Regions from separate parts of the Homo sapiens genome. Here regions 2 and 3 are each linked to region 1. Evidence: promoter capture Hi-C in human tissues and cell types (Jung and others, 2019). All regions are on one chromosome and are shown on one strand. The core of a region is centred on a gene start or on the middle of the fragment in contact, and the rest is flanking DNA. Distances in the headings are between cores, read along the strand shown.

Evidence for each region. Contacts are between HindIII fragments. The study calls those that stand out against the background at their distance.
Region 2: a fragment that was not itself captured here is called in contact with the fragment with the promoter of CSPG4 in region 1 in 4 of the 25 tissues and cell types used here (IMR-90 fibroblasts, lymphoblastoid cells, mesenchymal stem cells and 1 more).
Region 3: a fragment that was not itself captured here is called in contact with the fragment with the promoter of CSPG4 in region 1 in 5 of the 25 tissues and cell types used here (aorta, psoas muscle, small bowel and 2 more).

What each region holds. Positions count from the first base shown.
Region 1 is chr15:75,711,033-75,715,040 of GRCh38, forward strand. CSPG4 (chondroitin sulfate proteoglycan 4) reads right to left here and starts at 1,816. Exons shown (of 10, transcript NM_001897.5): 1 at 1,636-1,816. The coding sequence starts at 1,723. The HindIII fragment of the contact is 20,321 bases long and covers 1-4,008 here.
Region 2 is chr15:75,826,549-75,830,556 of GRCh38, forward strand. No RefSeq gene overlaps it. Among named protein-coding and RNA genes, the nearest start is that of UBE2Q2, 15 kb to the right of the region's middle. The HindIII fragment of the contact is 5,487 bases long and covers 1-4,008 here.
Region 3 is chr15:75,798,377-75,802,384 of GRCh38, forward strand. No RefSeq gene overlaps it. Among named protein-coding and RNA genes, the nearest start is that of MIR4313, 38 kb to the left of the region's middle. The HindIII fragment of the contact is 8,210 bases long and covers 1-4,008 here.

The DNA of each region.
Region 1 (4,008 bases), core at 566-3,065:
GCCTCCCAGCCAGGCTGCTGGCCTTCCTGTCTCAACACCCCTCTGCTTACGCCCACCTTGGTGCCTCTGAGTCAGCGCCCCTGCCTGGAGGACTGACTCCCTTCCCATCCACCAAGGCTTGGTTTGAGGCCCACCCTGTGTCCTGCCCCAGCTTGCCCCTGCTTTTCTCCCCTCTGTACTTTTCATCCAGATTTTTGCTGTTTGAGATTTAATTTGCCTTTCTGCCTCCTGAATGAGTCTCAGTTCAGCCTCTCAATTTCCCGTGCCCCTGCGAGCCTAGCACCATGCCTGCATGCTGTCAGGGCTAAGAAGGTATTTGAGAATGGCTCTCAGTTGAAGCCCAAGGAGGTGGGGGTACTGGAATCCCTCCTTGGCTGGAGGCTGGGGCCTGAATGAGCTGACCACCCTGGTCACCTTGGATGCTCCCTTCCCATCTCCCTGGCGGCCCAGCCCATCCCTCAGGCCCTGAGATCTTAGGGGATCTGGTCCCTGCAGGAACAGGGAGCCTGGAGATCCAGCCCTGATTCACCCCGCGGGGGTCCTCCCTTGACTCACTTCCCTTCTGGGAACCATGTGATGCCCTCTTTTAGAGCTGGCTTCTCCATCTGAAGGAGAGAAGGGTGTGGCCTGGGCCCTTGTGAAGGAGGCTCAGGCCCTGCCTTTGCTCCATGTTGCTCTTGGGAATGATCTCGAAGGTGTAGCTGAAGCACTGAATCACACGTGGGTAGTGATGATGGATGGGCCCTAAGGCCACAGTTCTTATGGCATAACTAGAGCTGCCTTCGCTGAAGGAAGAATGCTGTCATGTTGGGGTTTCTGGCATCGGGACAGAGAGGGGATATATCCCAGCACTTCTCGGAAAGCGAACTTCCATTCAGCCTCTGCTGGGTCAGGCATCAGTGCTGGGATGAGGAGGTGTGGCAGGGGGTGGTCCAGAGCTATCTGTAGGACAAGCCCCGCTGAGGGGCACCAGCTCTCCCTCTAGGAGGCTGAGAGTGGGTAGTGGGTGGGGGGTCCTGCCTGTCACCAACAGGAGGAGGGAGAGGAGAGAATGAAGAGGGGAGGTGGCAGATAGACGGATCTGCAAGGAAGCAAGGGGAGGAAAGAAGGGGCAGAGCTGGGGGGCAGCTGGAGGGGTGTGGGGGTGCTCCTCACAGGGGAGGGCAGGGTGGCTCATTCCTCGTTTCCCACCTTGTAGCACTCCCCATTCCTGGCCCAGGGCATCTGAAGCTGGAGGACCCACTTCTCACTGTCGCCGGGTCCCTTTGGACCCCAACATACTCACCCCAAACTTGCCTGGCAAACAAAGCTCGGCCAGCATTGGGGTGGCCCCACTGGTGTCTCAGACAATCCAAACGGGCAAAGCCACGCCCTAGGCAATCCATGCCTGGGGCGCCTGCTCCCGCCCCTAACTGGACAGCCTTGGCTAGCTAGAAACCCCATAACCTGAGATAGCGGGGTCCCGTGTCCGCCCCAGGATTGAACCCCTGGCGACCCCAGCTAGTGGTGGGAGAAGCGCAGCCTGCTTGACTCCCGATCTGGGGGCCACTTCTGGCTCCTCCTGTCCCTTTTCCCTCCCGGAGGAACCCCTCTAGTTCCGCCAGGCTGGGTCGGGGTCTCAGGCCCCTCACTCACCCGCGGATGCAAGTCTGGCCAACATAGTCAGGGTCAAAGCCAAGGCCAGGCCGGGGGCTGGAAGTGGGGGCCGCGGCCCGGACTGCATCCCGGCGGGCTGGGCGGCAGGACTTGCGAGGAGCCAGCGGAGTCCTGGGAGCTGGGAGCTGAGTGGAGCGAGCGCGGCTCTGCTCCTGGGCGCGGGCCGGCTCCGGGTGTCCGCGCACTTAACTCCGGGGGCGGGGCAGGCGCAGACCCGCGCGCCCGCTCGGGTTTCAGGCTTGGACTCCCCCACCTGCCCCCACCCTCAACCTTCTTAAAGGGCCCGTGCGGGGCTGTTCCTCTCTGGGGCAGGGGTGAGGGGGCCCTTGCAGCTGGGCCAGACCCCAGCCCCACCCTAAAGACTTAGAACAAAGTCATAGAGAGGCCCAGACACCCTGAACTCTGGCCCCAAGAGCCGAGCCCGGGAGACCCCCTCAGGGAGGAGGCATGAACTGTCCCAGCCCCTACTTCCCTCCTTTCTGCCTTTGCGGGAGTTCAGGAGACCCCTCCACAGGCACACTCCAGCCTTAGGAGGAAGGACAGACACCAGCCACCCTCACAGGCGGCTTTTGGGCTGCTTTGCCTCGGAGGTCCCCTAGGAACTTCTCCAGACTCCAGAGGCACCACCCGAGGTCCTGTGGGGCACTGCCCATGGCTGCAACAGTGACCTTCTCTGCCTGGAAGGGCCTCACCTCAGTCTCCCTGTCTGTAAGGGAGAGATGTCTGGATTTCCTCGCAGGGCAGAAGAATTCTCAGTCCCGCCATGACATTTGCCTCAAAATAACCTTGCAAGGTGGGTGAGGAGCATCCCCTCCCCCATTTCATGGAGGACGAAAGTGCAGCTCAAGCTGAAAGTGGCTCTTACAAGACTCCAGGTGGAAAGTAGGTCCCTGGCCGTTTGGTGCCAGAAGCCCAGGCCTCCTGACCCCTGAATCCGGGTGTTTCAACTTCCCGAGGCTGCCTCCTGGAAATCTGGCCCTGGATTTGGCTTCTACCTAACAGCTTCAGGCTGGGGCCCTTCTGCTGGCTCCCTTCCAGGCAGCAACATCAGCCTAGTCCCAAACAGGAGGAGAAAGGGCAATGTTACTTAGCTTCCGGTGCCTAGAGGATCTGCGTGTTCTCTGTCCAGTCCCAATGTTACCGGGCCTTGGTTTACTTCCTCCATTCAGGTCCCTCCATCTATCTGCTCCAGCCCATCTCCAGCCCAACCCCACCTTGCACCCTCTTCCCAGCTCTTCCCTTTGACCAGTAACAGCCCAGCACTTCATACTTTGCAACGAAACTGAGACCTGTTTTGCAGATGAAGAAACTGAGGCTGAGAGAGATTAAGGGACTGGAGCTAGTCTACATAGCTGCTGAGATGTGGGGCCAGGTCTTTGACCCTAAGTGCAGTGCTCAGGTGTGATGGTGCCTGGTCCATGTGGGGGTTATGAGTATTGGTCTTGAAACCAGAGAGACCTGGGTTCAAATCCCAGCTCCCTTACTTGGTTGTCAAACCTTGAACAAGTCCCCTCACCTCTCTGTGGCAGTTTCCTCATTTGTAAAATTGGGTTAATGAGGATTAAATGCTTTAATGTACCTCAAGTCCCTAGCCCAGGGCCTGGCATACGGTAGGTGCTCAATAAATGCTTATCCTTTCTCCTCCGTCTCTGTCATCCTGCACATTCCCTGTGATTCATGGTTTACATACAGCTTTACACATATCACCTCCCTTGTTGTAAAGCTTGAACTTTCTCCTCCAGAGGCTGCTGCATACAGTAGGTGTACAATAAATGCCTGCTGTAGTTGACTAAGAAACCAATTGCTGCTGTTCTGTAGGGATTTTGGCAAACCTAAGAGCTTCCATCCAGGTGCCCTAGGAGGCCTGGGATGGAGGCTGTGCTAGGCTGGCCTCAGTGGCGGTAAAGGCATTGATTCCACAATTTGTCCCTTGTTTTTTTTTTTTTTTTTTTTGAGACAGAGTCTCGCTCTGTTGCCCAGGCTGGAGTGTAATGGCGCGATCTCGGCTCACTGCAACCTCTGCCTCCCGGGTTCAAGCGATTCTCCTGCCTCAGCCTCCTGAGTAGCTGGGATTGCAGGTGTGCACCACCATGCCTGGCTAATTTTTGTATTTTTAGTAGAGATGGGGTTTCACCATGTTGACCAGGCTGGTCTTGAACTCCTGACCTCGTGATCTGCCCGCCTCAGCCTCCCAAAGTGCTGGGATTACAGGTGTGAGCCACCGCGCCCGGCTGTCCCTTGTTTTTCCTTCTCCTCAAGTCGGTAGGACACCTGGTCCTCATTAGGGGCTAATTACTGACAAGCTATGGGGCTGGGGGTGGGGGTGCTGCTTGGAAGACTGTGTTTGGAGGA
Region 2 (4,008 bases), core at 887-3,386, 120 kb after region 1:
GCTGCTTTACCTGGACACATTCCTACACAAAGCCTAAACTCCAAACTACATTTTCTGACGCTAATCACACACTTTGATGTTACGGCAATGTTGAATTGTTATGAAAATTTCTAAACATCTCCTTTCAATTGCCGTACATATCTTATCATAGACTGTCAACAGTGTGCAGAGACCTGCAAGACCTGCACAGGTGTGCAAATTGCACTCTGAGCAACATTGCTCTCCGTCATTCTCTTATTCCAACTGATTTCAGTAATCACTCCCTCCCCTCGAGTCTTCAAGCCTAGGGATGATAAGAGCTTGGTTGCTACCAGCTCTCACTACACTATTCCCCCAACAGCTTCGCCTTTATAAATTGTTATTTTGTTCATAAATCTCCTCCTTGAATTATCCTAATCTGCCTTCTGAATTTCTCTTGGGAAATGTTTTCTGATATAGCCTCCTAACATAGTACCCTGTCCGGCACAGACAAGACGAACAATCCGTGTTTACTGAATAAATGACCTGACATTATTTTGGAGAAATAAGATAACATTTTTCAGGAGGTGAAAATAAGGAGAGGACCCAAGGCATGATATGAACCCGTGCTTCTTCCTTACATGGTCATTATCCCTTCCAGATTTGGAGGCCTAGGCCAGAGCAACCAATAGCTCACATAACACCTTTGTGCAAATTAGAAAAAGGCCTGGCCTGTGGAAGGACACAGTCCCCAAAACACATGGCTTGAAAAAATACAGTGTGGGCTGGCTCTCAGCTCCCCAGACCAGGTACTCTCTGCTTGAATAATGCACACAATCTTACGCAGCTAGTCTGCCCTAGGCTGAGCAAACTGGCAAGTCATTCCACCTTAGAAAAGTGACCAATTAAGTATAATTCTCTGAAGAAGCTCATTACAGCTCAGATTTTGTGGGAATGTGATATTTTTGTCTGCAGGGTGATCTTTTTGACACTTTTCCTCCTTACCTTCCTGAATGTGAGAAGAGAGTCCTTGCTGGCATCATTCGAATAGGTAGTATTGTTATCCAATGGGGCCACAGGATTTCTGGGGGCAAATGCTTTTTGCAGTTCTTCTAAATATAATTGTGCTGTCTTGAAGAAGACCTTTAAGACCCCGAACTGCATGGTCTGTGACTAAGAGTAGCCCAGGGGAGCGTGCTGGGGGTGGCAGGTATTAGGACCTAGCTCTTTCTGGCTGGAGCTGGCACCACTTGCATAGGAGGTACACTGATCCCTGGGGTGAGTTGGGGAGTGGGGATGGGAGAGTTCAAGGGAGCAGGGTGAGGAAACTAAACGACTTGTCAGTGCCTTGTGATTCAGACCTTCCTGTTGTAGAGAAGTGATTTTGTTTGACATGGATTCCCAGAATGCCTGACACACCCACATGCAAGCGAGCCCCAACCCATCCCAGGGCCCATGGTGAGTGAGTGAACTGAGGATTCATGACAGCTTCTGCCCTCAGCACCATTCCCTGCTCCTATCTGAACAGGCTTTTCCCCAATAGAAGCATCACAAGAGCATATGAGGATGGGAAACATTCCAGAGACTTGCATTAAATTGACCCTATAATTCTCAAGCCTGAGAGGGGAAGCTATCTGTCTTTTCTGGAAGCTTGACACACCTTAACTTCTCTCATTTCTTGTTTTTATTTATTTGTTTATTTATATTTTAGACGGAGTTTCACTCTTGTCACCTAGGTTGGTGTGCAATGGTGCAATCTTGGTTCACTGCAACCTCCGTCTCCCTGGTTCAAGCAATTCCCCTGCTTCAGCCTCCCAGGTAACTGGGATTACAGGCATACGCCACCATGCCCAGCTAATTTTGTATTTTTAGTAGAGATGGGGTTTCACCATGTTGGTCAGGCTGGTCTTAAACTCCTGACCTCAAGTGATCCACCTACCTCAGCCTCCCAAAGTGCTGGGATTATAGGCGTGAACCACCGCGCCTGGCCAACTTCTTTCATTTCTTAATCTCCCAAACACATCGGTCAACTGTAAGTTTGATAGTAATGACAGGGATATCTACTTCGTAATCAAACCAAAAGTGGTGAGATGGGGAGGATGTGGGAAAGGCGAATCAGAGAGCCTGGGGAAAGGTATTGCTCTCCCTTCCAGAACTGGAGTCAACATACAAACACCTTTTCATGCGGTCACTGGGTCATCACTAAAAGTAACACTCATTGCATTTTGGAAACTGAAGAAATCTCAGAGACCATTATTCCTTTGTTTTAAAGACTAGGACCCTGAAGCGTAATGAAATGTATTACGGCTGAAGATTACCCAGGAAATGAAACCAGGGTTAGAACCCAGGTCTGTGGCTGCTACTCCAATGTGACTTCTACCATGCTATGCTGCCTCTCAAAGTAATTATCTTTTCTCACTCATTCGTTCATTCACCAAATATTTGTTGGGCACTGTTACGTGCCTGGCACTGTGAGGTATGCTAGCTAGATAGTAGAAGTGAACAAGACCAACATTGTCCTCACGGGGCTTAAATGTAATGAGAAGACACATTAAACAAATTATGCAAATAAACAATTACAAAGATGATGAATGCCAAGAAGAATTAGACGGCACTATTAGAGCTTATAAAAACATGCCTTACCTAGCCCAAGTGGCAATGATGGTGGTGAGATCCAGGAAGGCTTCTCTGAGGAAATGACATTTAAGCTGAGACTTGAAGGATGAGTAGAAGATAGTGAGGTGAAGGGTCTGGGAGATGGGAAGTGAAATTGAGGTAGAGGGAAGGAGATGTATTATGGCAAAAACTGTCATTACTTTTGCACCAGCCTAATACAAAGGCAGGAAAGAGATAAAGCTTTCAAATAACTGAAAATAAACCTGTGGCCTAGTGTATAAATGGTCTGGGGGATACAATGGGTTGGGAAGCAGAGTCAGACCATTCAGAGCCTGGCAAGCTGTGGTCAGGATTCTGGACTTTATCCTGAGAGTGGAGGGAAACCACTGGAGGGTTTTTAAATATGGAAGTGTTATGACCAGATTTTTCTTTTTCTTTTTTTTTTTTGAGATTGAGTTTTGCTCTTGTTGCCCAGGCTGCAGTGCAATGGCGCGATTTCAGCTTACTGCAAACTCCTCCTCCCAGGTACAAGCAATTCTCCTGCCTCAGCCTCCCAAGTAGCTGGGATTACATCTATATGGCATCACACCTGGCTAATTTCGTATTTTTAATAGGGATGGGATTTCGCCATGTTGACCAGGCTGGTCTTGAACTCCTGACCTCAGGTGATCCACCTGCCTCGGCCTCCCAAAGCACTAGGATTACAGGCATGAGCCACCGCACCTGGCTGACCAGATTTTAAAAAGATCACTGAGAAGATTTCACTAGTGGGAGCAAAAGTGAATGCAGGCAGTGACTTAGGGGGCTCCTCCAACATCTCAGGTAAGAGAGGATGGTGGCTTGGACCAGAGCAGGGCTAGTGGAGATGGGGAGAAATGAAGACATCCACAAGCATTTAGAAGGAACTTGGTACTCAGTGAATGTGAGAAATGAGCAAGAGAGGAGGGACCAAGAGTAACCATCAGTGTTGGCATAAGACGGGGGAAATGGGGGTGCATTCCTGGAGCTAGGGAATACTGCAGGAGTCAAAGCCTCAAAAAGAGACCAAGATTGGACATGTTAAGATTGAGGGACCTGGGAGACAAAGAGGAGAAGATCAGAGAAGGCAGTTGGATGTGTAGGACTTACAGTGCAGAAAAGAGATCTGCTTTAGAAATAGAAATGTAGGAGTCAGGTTGGCCAGGCGTGGTGGCTCACACCTGTAATCCCAGCACTTTGGGAGGCCAAGGTGGGTGGATCACCTGAGGTCAGGAGTTTGAGACCAGACTGGCCAACATGGCAAAACCCCGTCTCTACTAAAAATATAAAAATTAGCCAGGTGTGTTGGTGGGTGCCTGTAGTCCCAGCTACTCGGGGGGCTGAGGCAGGATAATTGCTTGAACTGGGGAGGTGGAGGTTTCAGTGAGCCAAGATCGTGCCACTTCAGTCCAGCCT
Region 3 (4,008 bases), core at 794-3,293, 88 kb after region 1:
ACACTTGGGCAAAGTTGCACAGTCTATCTTTGACTCATGGTGCAATACTCTTTCCACTCTCTGAGAACACTGAGTCCTGTGAAGAAGGTGAAAGGAAGGTGTGTGCGTGTGTGTGCACGTCTGTGTTGGTGTGTGTAAATGTATATCTAATAAGTGTGTATAGATATGTGTATGTCTCTGTATTTGTGTTTGTGTATACATGTGGATGTCTGGGTGTCTATATGCATGTTTGTGTGTGTGTACACATGCTCATGGGGAAGGTTAAAGAGAAAATTGGCCCGGTGCGGTGGCTCATGCCTGTAATCCCAGCACTTTGGAAGGCTAAGGCGAGCAGATTGCCTGAAGTCAGGAGTTCGAGACCATTCTGGCCAACATGGTGAAACTCCATCTCTACTAAAAATGCAAAAAAATTATCTGGACGTGGTGGCATGCACCTGTAAACCCAGCTACTCAGGATTGCTTGAACCAGGGAGGTGAAGGTTGCAGTGAGACGAGATCGCACCACTGTACTCCAGCCTGGGCAACAGAGTGAGATTCCATCTCAAAAAGGAGAGAGAGAGAGTCAGCAGTGTGCAGTGATGCACATCTGTAATGCCAGCTACACAGGAGGTGGACGGAGGAGGATCACTTGAGCCCGGGAGTTTGAGAGAGAGAGAGAAAATTTCAATAATCTTGCAGTTAGAAGGAAAAACCTGGGGCTGAGCACAAAGAGACATAAAGCACAGCATAAAGAGGCAGAGAAATGTCTAATGAAAAGTGACAAAGAATTAATTAGTTCTTATATAAAGAAATATAGGACTTTAGCAGCAGGATAAAACTGGAATATAATTTCTTCTAGAATCCTGATAATCTTTGTGAGAAAACTGTTGGTCATATATGTTAATTGCCAAAACTTGCAGGACCCTATGCAATAGAACTAGCAAATAAAACCATCTTTCTGAAACTCACTATGCTACAAGCAGCATTCAACTCTTTCTCAACCAAGATTTCACTAACCTATCTCCAGCTTCCAGATGGTGAGGGAAAGTGTGATGAGATTTTATGATAAATTGTGCCTGTCTCTGAGTCCATCTCCTTCTATTGAAGAGAAGGAAAATGAGGTGAGCACATTACAGCCCTGCTGACAAAAGTCACAAGATAAGCAAATAATTATTACTTAAAACCAGGGAGTCCTATAATTTATTCATGAATGCCACACATTCTATATTAGATCTTCCATTTCAATTTACTTGTATTATTTGAAGCTAATTTATAAGATTCAAATTATTCAGAAAATGCTCCCACGTAAATAGAAGAAAACACTTTAACCAGAGGAAGTATCATGCTACACAATATGGTGTGGTGGTGAAGGGTGCAGGCTCTAAAACCAGAAAACACAGGTTCAAGTCCTGGCCTTACCACCTTGGGAAAGTTACATGGTCTCTCTGTGCCTCCATTTCCCCATCTAAAATGTGGGGATGACAATAATAGTGTCTATTTCACAGAGCAGTTTTGAGGAAAATAATATATGTAAAGCACTGTGAACAGCAGTTAGTGCTATGTAAGTGTTTGCTCTAGTTATTTTAACATTTCAGATGATAAATATCTACCCTGTTATTCAGATGACAAGCGTCCCTAAGCTGATAACATGATGAAGAGCTTTTGGGTTTCTTAATTTCCATCAGTTTTGTGAGGGAAAAAATACCACATGAAGAAGAGCAACTGAAGCAGGCGTGAGGAGGAAACTTGGCTTAAGATTGGGGGGCTTGGGGTTATTAGGCTTTCATCTTCTAAAATGTCCTAAGCTCCATTGATAAGAAGACACTTAGTATCAATCCAGCTAAAAAGGAACAATAGACCCCACAAGACACTGAGTTAGAGACAAAAATAGCAGGGTAATAAATGAAATATGGAAAACTACACAACCAGAAAAATAAACAGCTACCAGTACCCAAAACGTGGTTAAATCTCACAGGATTATATTGAATGAAAGAAGCCAGCCACAAACGTGCACATACTGAATGGTCCCATTTATATGAAGCTAAAGAACAGGCGAAACTAATCCATGGTTGCAGAGGTCAGGATCCTGGTTAACTTTGAGGGGACAGCAACTGAGAAGGGGCAAGAGGGAGCCCTCTGTGCTGATGGGAACATTCTGTATCTTGAACTGAGTGGCGGTCACATAAGTGTGCACATATGTAAATAGTAAGGAGTTGTAGCTTAAGGTATAGGCACCTCGCTGAATGTAAGATACTGTCTTAGTCCATGTGTGCTGCTGTAACAAAATATTTGAGACTGGGTAATGTGTAAAGAACAAAAATGTATTTCTCACAGTTCTGGTGGGTGGGAAGTCCAAGATCAAAGCGCCAGCAGGTTTGTAGTCTAGTGAGGGCTGCTCTCTGCTTCCAAGATGGCACCTTAAATGCTGAGACCTCCAGAGGTGAGGAATGCTGTGTCCCAGCATGGTGGAAAGAACAGAAAAGCAAAAGAAGAAAACCGAGCTGGGTAGCTCCCTCAAGCCCTTTCATAAGGTCACTAATCCCATTCACGAGGGGGCTCCTCCTTACAGCTTAGTCATCTCCTAAAGACTCCACCTCTTAATACTATCACATTGGGGTTTAAGTTCCAACATGAATTTTGGAGGAGACACAATCATTCCAACCATAGCAAATATACTTTACTAAGAAAGAAAAAAACATAGTCTCTAAATATGATATTTTAAGAGTTTATATATTTAAAGCTCAATTTTCTGCTTGCTTACATACATATTTGTGACCATGAGTGTCATTCTTGGCTGAGAAACATTTCAGTAAATTTTAAAAAGTCTCACATTATCTATTAATATCTTATTCAGATAAGATCAAATTTCTAACCTACATTTTAGGTTGAGACAGAAACCCAGTCATTTGTTGCAATGTGAGAATGACAGAGAGATAGTAACTAGCAGAATCCAACTATAAAACTAAATTTAAGGGCACAATTCTCTACTAATCACTCCCCCAGACAAATCATTACTTGGATAGCAATGAATCAACTAAAAATGGAAGTGAGAAAAGTTCGAGTCCTTTTTGCGATGGATGGATGCTTATGAGACTATTAAGTGAAGGGGGTTCGGAAATAAGGGGATAAATGGCATACTAATTTGAGGTTGAATGGAGTAATGAGATGACCTTGGAAATATAAGAATCCTGCTTAATGGGGCTTGTCTACTTGCAATTCGATAAACTAATATACGTAAATTCAAGGAGATAAAGGACATGAGCACTCAGCACAAAATTACAGGAATAGATTTAGCAAAGAGGAACCAAAGTTGAGATAAGGGCCACTGTTCCAGGTCTGACATCTTTAATTCTTGAGTCATGGGGATGGTAAACCAGAGAACAGAGTCTTCCGACTGGAAGCTAAAACCAGCCTTTGGGGTGGGTTCAGAGAGCCTGTTCAGACTCAAGATGCGAAAACAGATGTTGCATGGTCGAAAACATCCCGAGTGCAAGGGCATTTTCAAAGACAGCGGTGCTCAGGGAAAAAGAATACTGTGTGTTTAAAAAGAAAAAAAATTAAAAGAAAGAATGGAAACAAGGAGGAAAAAGTGACCGGAGTGTAGGGTGACCATACGTTCTGGTTTGCAAGGTACAGCTAATGTTATGTCTGCTGTCCTGGTACAATTATTATAGTGCCCCCTTTCACTCTCCGAAGTGTCTTGATTTGGATGATAAAGCATATGATCACCCTATTAAAGAGAGGAAATTAGCCAGAAGACCTTTGTGTCGATTTTAAACGGTGTGGACTGATCCGCAGTCGCGCTCTTGCCGCTGCCCAGCTGAGCAGCGTGCACCACCTCTGCGTCGCCCTACCCCGCCCTGCCTGGGTCTCCAGGAAGGTTGGAGCGGAACCCGCGCTGCTCTGGTGCCACCTGCAGGTTATATGGGGGAACTGCTTCTCTCCACCCCACTACCCACCACCCCACATCCCCACCGCCACCTTGGACAGCCTTGGACTTGGCCAAAAGACATTAAGAGCACGCGAAGC